Regions from separate parts of the Homo sapiens genome. Here region 1 is linked to region 2. The links are contacts of gene promoters, found by promoter capture Hi-C in human tissues and cell types (Jung and others, 2019). All regions are on one chromosome and are shown on one strand. Each heading gives the region's core, a stretch centred on a gene start or on the middle of the fragment in contact. The rest is flanking DNA. Distances are from core to core; before and after follow the strand shown. Region 1 overlaps PPP3CC (protein phosphatase 3 catalytic subunit gamma). Region 2 holds the start of PHYHIP (phytanoyl-CoA 2-hydroxylase interacting protein).

The links. Contacts are between HindIII fragments. The study calls those that stand out against the background at their distance.
Region 1: a fragment that was not itself captured here is called in contact with the fragment with the promoter of PHYHIP in region 2 in 3 of the 25 tissues and cell types used here (H1 embryonic stem cells, adrenal gland and liver).

What each region holds. Positions count from the first base shown.
Region 1 is chr8:22,462,346-22,466,567 of GRCh38, reverse strand. All of the region lies in intron 1 of PPP3CC (protein phosphatase 3 catalytic subunit gamma), which reads right to left. Among named protein-coding and RNA genes, the nearest start is that of PPP3CC, 23 kb to the right of the region's middle. The HindIII fragment of the contact is 3,217 bases long and covers 1-3,161 here.
Region 2 is chr8:22,229,509-22,234,052 of GRCh38, reverse strand. PHYHIP (phytanoyl-CoA 2-hydroxylase interacting protein) reads left to right here and starts at 1,954. Exons shown (of 5, transcript NM_014759.5): 1 at 1,954-2,257. RefSeq lists enhancers at 1,577-2,324, 3,250-3,419. The HindIII fragment of the contact is 22,356 bases long and covers 1-4,544 here.

The sequences.
Region 1 (4,222 bases), core at 304-2,803, 230 kb before region 2:
CAGAGAAATGCAAATCAAAACCACAATAAGATACCATCTCACACCAGTTAGAATGGTGATCATTAAAAAGTCAGGAAACAACAGATGCTGGAGAGGATGTGGAGAAATACACCGTTGGTGGGTGTGTAAATCAGTTCAACCACTGTGGAAGACAGTGTGGTGATTCCTCAAGGATCTAGAACTAGAAATACCATTTGACCCAGCAATCCCATTACTAGGCATATACTCAAAGGATTATAAATCATTCTACTATAAAGACACATGTGCACGTATGTTTATTGCAGCACTGCTCACAATAGCAAAGACTTGGAACCAACCCAAATGTCCATCAATGATAGACTGGATAAAGAAAACGTGGCACATATAGACCATGGAATACTATGCAGCCATAAAAAGGATGAGTTCATGTCCTTTGCAGGGACATGGATGAAGCTGGAAACCATCATTCTCAGCAAACTATCACAAGGACAGAAAACCAAACACCACATGTTCTCACTCTTGGGTGGGAATTGAACAATGAGATCACATGGACACAGGGTGGGGAACATCACACACTGGGGCTGGTCGGAGGATGGGGGGCTGGGGGAGGGAGAGCATTAGGAGAAATACCTAATGTAAATGATGAGTTGGTGGGTGCAGCAAACCAACATGGCACATGTATACCTATGTAGCAAACCTGCATGTTGAGCACATGTACCCTAGAACTTAAAGAATAATTTTTTAAAAAAAGCAAAAACTAAAAAAAAATGGCTACAATAATATTTCTCACTCTACATACTCTTCTGTAATCTCACTGTCTTGGTCTGTTTTGTGTTGCTATGACAAAATATTATAGACTGGATAATTTATAATGAATAGAAATTTACTCATTCATAGTTCTGGAGGCTAAGAAGTTCAAGATTGAGGGGCCAGGCATCTGGCATGGGTCTTCTTGCTGCATCATCCCATAGTGGAAGGGCAAAGAGGGATAAGAGAGAGCAAGAGATAGAACTTGCAGCCTTAAGCCCTTTTATAATCAACATTAATGCATTCATTAGAGGTGGCTTCATGACCTAAACACCTCTCATTAGGCCCCACCTCCCGACACTACTGCATTTGGGATAAATTTTCTAATACATACTTATTTTATTTTTAAATTTCAGATTCAAGGGGTATATGTGTACCTTTTTTACATGGATATACTGCATAATGGTAAAGTTTGGGCTTCTAGTATACCCATCACCCAGGCAGCCAACATATGCTTTCTGGGGATCATATTTAAAGCATAGCAGTGACCTGACCCTATCCTATCAAGAAGTAGAGTCTAAGGCCAGGCCCAGTGGCTCATGCCTGTAATCCTAGCACTTTGGCAGGCTGAGCCAGGCAGAATGCTTGAGCTCAGGAGTTTGAGTCCAGCCTGGGCAACATGGTGAAACCCCGTCTCTACTAAAAACACAACAAAAATTAGCCGAATGTGGTGTCACAAGCCTGGAGTCCCAGCTACTTGGGCGGCTGAGGTGGGAGGATCACTTGAGCCCAGGAAGTCGAGGCTGCAGTGAGCCAAGATAGCACCACTGCATTCCAGCCTAGGTGACAAAAAAAAAAAAAAAAAGGGAGAGTCTAATGTCTCTCCCGTAGAATCTGAACTGGCCTTAGTGACCTGCTTTAACAAATACATTGCAGCAGAAGTGATTTTGCAGATTCTGCCTCGGTCTCTTGGCATACTCATTCTCCAGTAAAGTGGGTATATGGTCAATAATCCCAGCTGAGGCAAGCTTTGAGTGAACTCAGCCCACGCATAACTCACTTCATTCAAACTTAAGTAAAGACTACAACTATCTACGTCTATGTGCTAAACACTGAAAAGGCTCTTGGAATCATCAGTCAAAAAGCAAAAAGTAGTCCAGGTATGATGACTCACACCTATAAAAAGAATCTCATCACTCTGGGAGGCTGAGGTGGGTGGATTGCTTGAGCTCAGGAGTTCGAGACCAGCCTGCGCAACATGGCGAAACTCTGTCTCTACCAAAAAAACACAAAAATTAGTTGAGTGTGGTGGTGCACACCTATAGTCCCAGCTGCTCAGGAGGCTGAGGCAGGAAAATCACTTGAGCCCAGGAGATTGAGGCTGCAGTGAGCTATGATCCAGCCACTGCACTCCAGCCTAGACAGCTGAGCGAGACCCTGTCTCTAAAAAATAAGTAAATAATAAGAAATTGTTAAGATGTCTTTTACACCTACTACATCTTTGGGTTTATAATAAATGGCCACTAGGTAAAACAAAGCTTTAGTCCTTTACTTTATTAAAAATTTTTTAAAGGATTATAAAAATTATTAGCTTTGTTTGGCATACTCTGAATTTTAATTAACTTAAAACTTTTGTGAGAACTCTTTGCTTTATTAAATTTGGGTTAAAGGGAAAAAAAAACCTCACAAATCATAAGGAAAGTTAAGCCTTCCCAATTTAATCATGTATAATAAAATGTGGTTAAAATAAATATACTTCAACATTTAAGTATCTTTCGGCTTAAAGAAAATATTAGGAGGCCGAGGTAGGCAGATCACCTGAGGTCAGGAGTTCGAGACCAGCCTGACCAACATGGTGAAACCCCATCTCTCTTAAAAATACAAAAAATTAGCGGGGTTTGGTGGTGGACACCTGTAATCCCAGCTACTTGGAAGGCTGAGGCAGGAGAATTGCTTGAATCCAGGAGGCGGAGGTTGCAGTGAGCCGAGATCATGCCATTGCACTCCAGCCTGGGAAACAAGAGAGAAACTTCGTCTCAAAAAAAAAAAAAAGAAAACATACATTCGAGTACAAAGACTGCCACAATAGCTATCTAAAAAAGGATTTTATTTCTAGGTTTCAGTAAACTTGGAATGGTGAAACTCATAATACACTTTATAGGATAAATGAAAGAAAGTCCTAGAGACTGTCAATGTCCTCCCTGTTTGTGAGATATTCTTACTTCTAGGATAATCAGTGACTACTCATAAAATTCATTATGTACTTTCTGCAATAGAAGATTCCACTCCCTTCCATTCTGATAATGCTGGTTAATATAATAAATCAACTAAAGCCTATAGTCCCATGATCCACAGGTGGTTTCCGCTTCTTCCTTACATTCATCTAAAGTTCCTGGCTATAAGCTAAAGATAGGAATTGAGCCTTGTGGAAGACTTATCAAAAGAACTTTTGTAAATGTTTGTATCATGCACCCATTACTGACACTACAGAGAATAAATTAATGATGCATACTGCCGACATCATTGCCATGGACAAACAGTGGGTGAGCCAAGATTTCCAGAACTGTTATGGTCCAGAAGCAGAAGATAAAATGAATAGACTATTTATGTCCAAGATAATCAGAACACAACCTCCCAGATGCCAGAAGCCACTGATGACTACAGACTTGCATGATTTTGTCCTTTATTCTCTTGGCATTTTCTTCTCTCTCCACTGTTGTAAGATTTTAGGCTGCTAACAGATAACTTTTCCTTACTGTTAGCACTATCAAGATGCTTATCCTTGGCAAAATATAAACCAAATATGGGACAGTTGCAAAGGTGAATGACCCATATCCAAATTAAAGGAAAAAAAATATATTTGGTTGCCCAAAGGAAAATCCAAATAGATTATGGGATATATGGGACATTATTTTAAACTTTAATAATAACTGTCTGAGTTTCAGTGTGTTGCAGATGCCAAGTGTGTGATCTTTAGAGTCTTAAATGCTGCTGTGCAGCCACTGTCACACCAGCTGATTCAACAAATTATCATCTAAGAAAAAGAACATCGAGGCCATCCTGGCTAACATGGTGAAACCCCGTCCCTACTAAAAATACAAAAATTAGCCTGGCATGGTGGCGGGTGCCTGTAGTCCCAGCTACTCAGGAGGCTGAGGCAGGAGAATGGTGTGAACTCAGGAGGCGGAGCTTGCAGTGAGCCGAGATCGTGCCACCGCACTCCAGCCTGGGCAACAGAGCAAGACTCCGTCTCAAAAAAAAAAAAAGAAAAAAGAAAAAAAAGAACAAAATGGCCTGGTGCCTGTAGAGGCCAAAATGTCTACCATCAAAGCTTTATAAACATTCACAACCCATCAAACGACAGTTTGAAATCTTGATTGATCACCTCCCCTAAATGGTAAATGTTCCAGTTTAGCGGACGAATGATCAGAAACAGAGATTAAAAAGTGAAACAAAACTGAAATTACACTACAAATTGCTTGCAGATGCACAGAAA
Region 2 (4,544 bases), core at 705-3,204:
GAGGCACAATCTCACTCTGTCACTCAGGCTGGAGTGCAGTGGTGCAATCTTGGCTCACTGCAACCTCCACCTCCCGGGTTCAAGCGATTCTTGTGCCTCAGCCTCCCAAGTAGCTGGGATTACAGGCGCCCACCACCACACCCAGCTAATTTTTATATTTTTAGTAGAGATGGGGTTTCGCCATGTTAGCTAGGCTGGTCTCGAACTCCTGATCTCAGGTGATCTGCCTGCCTCAGTCTCCCAAAGTGTTCGGATTCTTGTGAGCCACTGCGCCCGGCCTGGGACAGAATTGTAGTCCAGATGTCATGTGCTGGCCATCACCAGGAGGTTACGTTTTGCATCTCTTCTGAGCTCACCAGCTCGGCGTGGGTATGTCGGAGCAGGACGTAGTCATGCTTGGCCAAGGGGGTGCTTAGTCCTGCCTCAGTGCCACGCACCACCCCACATTCGGCAGTTCAGGACCTGGCCAGGCTCACTGAGGTTCTCACAGCCGTTTCAGGCAGGGTTGGCTTCTGCTTGTCTTTGCATTCTGTGAACTCTCACTTTCTGCTGCTGTTACCTCCTCTGACTTTTGCACTGAGGCCTGCCGCCTCAACTCCCTCTTGGTGAGTGTTTCTTAGGCTCAGCTCACACCTTCTCCTGCTCACCAAGACCTCACCCTGGGCCTGCCTGGTGTCAGCTGCCCCCGTGCCAATCCTCCCCACCCCAGCCGCACTCCTGCTTCCACAGCCTCCTCTGGCCTGCACCCTGCACGTGCCCTGGAGCCGCCCATTGTTCTTTCTCTGAATGAGTATCTGTGCCCTACGATTTAGTTGTGTGCTCCTCATTCTCTAATTGCATCCTCTAAATGGCCATCTTCTCTCCCGTAGAGGACTGTGGGCTCCTTGCAGGAAGATGCTGTCGATATGATGGGAACAAGAACAGTTCTGACATGTGACTGGCACTTCTGATGTGCCAGGCCCAGGGCTGGGCGATTTACCTAATTATTTCATTCCATGATGACAATAAACCTGTGTGATCCCACTTGACAGATGAAGAGAGGTTGAGTGGCTTGTCCAAGGTCCCCCAGCTGGGTAGCAGTAGAGCAGGGATTCTCAGCACATCCATCTGACTGTGAGCCTGTGCTTTTCACCACTGCGCAACCCTCTGTCCCTGCTTGCTGCTGGACTCACATTTCCTTGGATGTTCTTCCCGATGGCCTCCACGGAGTCTGCTTCTTGATGGCAGAACAGCCTCCTGCTGCCGTGAGAGCAGAATTACATTCTCTCCCCAAGATGCCCAGGGCCGGCTTCCTTTGTGCTCAGAGAGTGGGGTGGGCTGAGGACACTCAGAGCTTGGTGTGTTCTCCCACCCCCATTTTCTTACCCCTGTGCACCCTGCACTGTGCCACAGCCTCTCTCCCAGCCCCTTTTCCTGTGGACCCCCAAGCTGCCAGAGGGTTCTTGCCAGACCCACAGGGATCCCTGAGCTGCAGGTCTGCCATCTCTCTCTAGAGTTGGTAAGAAAATGGAACCACAGTTCACCAAAAGGCCCCAAGGAGAGGCTCCGGACTGAAGACAGCCACCCCAGCTTCACACCCCCCATCTGGACCTTTCCCCTCTACAGCCTCCCTCCCCTTCCCCCAATCAGAGTCTTTGCTTTGGGGCCCAAGCCCTTGGCTAAGCTCCACCCCTCTCCCAGCATCCTAAAGTTTGGGGGCTGCATTCAAGTCAGAGATTTCCAAGTAGGGGGTGTGTTGGAGGGACTTCTGAGGGCAGCTTGTCCTGGAAGAATGGGGGAAAGGCGGCGTGTGTTGCTGTCCCTGAGGACATCTGTGTAGCTCCCTGGGAGACCCTCTGCCCTTTCCCCCTCCCACCAGCCCGGCGAGCAGGGACCAAGCCTGCTTATTATCACCTGACGCTGCGCAGCCGCTGATCCCATTGGTGGAGGCAGATTCGGTCTGGCTCTCTCGTTCTTTCTCCCTTCTCTGCCTCTCTCTCCTCCACGCTGCTTTGATTTCGCTCTTGCCTCTCTTCTTGCGCTGCTCAGCTGGGAACATCGTCTCACCAGGGGCAGCAGCGACGCGCTGCACAGCCAGACAGGAGCTGGCTGCGGGGCATGGAAGCAGCCTCCTTGGCAGCCGGGAGAGGAGCAAGCGCACGCCACTGCCCGTGACCCAGGCGTCCGGCTGCTGTCCCCTGCCGGGGAGCTCATCCACGCAGAGGTCTCTCCCTGTCCTCCCTGCGAGCTTTTCCTCTGCAGAGCCCAGTGGAGCCAGGTGAGTACCCTTCCTCCCTGGAACCTGCTGCTGTTGATCCTGAGTAGCCGGGATCTGGGGGCTCTAGGGTCCTGCCACCACCCAGGGTGCCCACCTGGACTGCCAGGCCTGACGACCTTGTCCCCTCTCCCCCCCCCCGGCCAGGCCTTTGGCAAAGTGGTTAATGGCTGAATCCAGTCTCTGGGGCACCACAGTTAGTCACCCCGTGACCGTTCTGCTGCAGTCAGCGATGCCAACAGGGACAGCAGGGTGGGGGAAGCATTCCCTGTGGCAGGGTGGCTGTTTGAATGGGCATGGGGAAGGGGCACCGGTGTGCGCGGCGTGTGTGTGTGCGCGCTCGCGAGTTGGCTGGAGGCTTGCTGGCGCAGATAGGTCCGTCTGTCCGCAGTCATGCTCATGTGTGGGTTTTGAATGGTGTGAGGCATGTCTAGAAACATATCTTTCTGGCACACGTGAGGTACATGTGTGTGGGGGACTTATTTGAGTAGCCTGTGGGTGTGCGTGGGTGGGGACACTATGAGGCAGTATATTTAGGGGTAACCATGTCCCTTTTCATGTGTGTGGGAGTGTATGCAGACAGGGGCTTTCTATATGGGGAGGTGAGACCCAGAGCAGGATGGAGTGGGTAAAGAGAAGAAGGGGCAGAAACCATTGTCTGTGGGCAGAGCCACGTAGGTGCACAAACCTGTTGGCATGAAGGCTCAGGGCTGGCAGAGTGTGGCCAGAGGCAAACACATTTTCAAAGTCTGTCTTTGAGCCTGGAGATGATTCGAGAGAGAATACCAGACTTCGGGCGGGGGCTGCTGTGTGTATGAACACACATGTGTGTGCCGGCAGGCGTGTGGGTTGCGTGCCTTCTTGTGGAGGTGGCACACATGCATGTTGGTGCCTGTGGCATCCTCTTTTCCCCACATATGGCTTGTGAGGCGGTGTGCGTGGACGTGTGTGTGCGTGAGCCTGTGGACATGAACATGTCTGGGTGTGCATGGAGGTGACAGATTGAAGAGGGAAAACTGTGGGGCATTCTTAGAATGTGGAAGGTGGCAGCAGGCACCTGAATGTGGAGATGGGTGTGTGGGAGTGAGGACATCTGCGGAGGTGTGGGACGCGGGTGGGTGGGCACTCTTGGCGCATGTGTGTATGCGCGTGCGTGCCTGCCTGTGTGTGGGTGTGTACATGCCTGTCTTGGGGTGGATCCACACAGGAGTGTGGGTGTTTCTCGGGTGTTGCCTCAACCTGTCCCTCACACCCTGCCCTTCCCCAGTCTTCTGGGTGTAGAGAACTTGGGTTCACACCCACCCCTCTGTCCACCCCAGCTCACTCACTGCCACCCTCCCAAGCTAGCGGGGGGATGTCATCTCAGCTTTCCCAGAACCGTAGGGAGGGAGGGACAAGCAGACACCCAGGTCCTGGAGACCCCTACCGCCAAACACAGCTGCCCCTATTTCTAGGAGGACTCCAAGGAGAGGCAGGAATAGGTGCCTACTCATGGGACGAGTGTGGGCTGCCTCCGAGCGTGTGGGTGGGTGCCGCTCAGGGCCTCTTGGGTAGGAGTGTGTCTGTGTTCGTGTGTGTGTGTGCGTGTGTGTGTGTGAGGGGCACATGTGTGTCTCCCTGGGAGCTTCTCACCAGGTTCCCAAGAGATGGTAACTCCCCACTGCTCCACACCTGTCCCCATGAATTACAAACTGGTTTATTATGGTAGGGTTGTTTCCAGACACTCAATCCCATCTGCCTGATTTTGGGGTGGGCCTGGTAGCACCGCCATGCTTATTTACCATAGGATTCCCCATGCACAAAGCCACCGGCATTTGGCTGTGGGGTGGGAGGCTAAGATGAAACAGGACTTGAGTGACACCTGGAGCAGGTAAGGGCCATCACCTTTAGCCTTCACCCTGTACTTGCCATCCAGGCAACTCACAGGTTAATACAGAGGTGCCAGGCTCTGGAGCAAGCTTAATTGACAGGAAGGTGTGGGCTGGATCCTCTGGAAGCTATAAATAAAAGTACCTGCTTTTGCAGGCACAAGATGCCCTCACCACTAGCTCCTGGGCAAGGGGAGGAGAAAAAGAGGGGAGAAAGAAGAGAAGGAGGTGACATTTAGAAAAATGAGGGGTGCCAGGAACTGGGCTGGAGGAAGGGATTGGAAAGCAGGAGACCAAATGCCCCTGGAGAATGCCCCACCCACGTCTGCTGTCCCCTCCCAGACGCTGTCACTCCCCTTCCCTTTGCTCTTCCCCATCCCGGAGCTAGGCCAGCCAGGCCAGAGTCATGGCCAGAGTCAGCT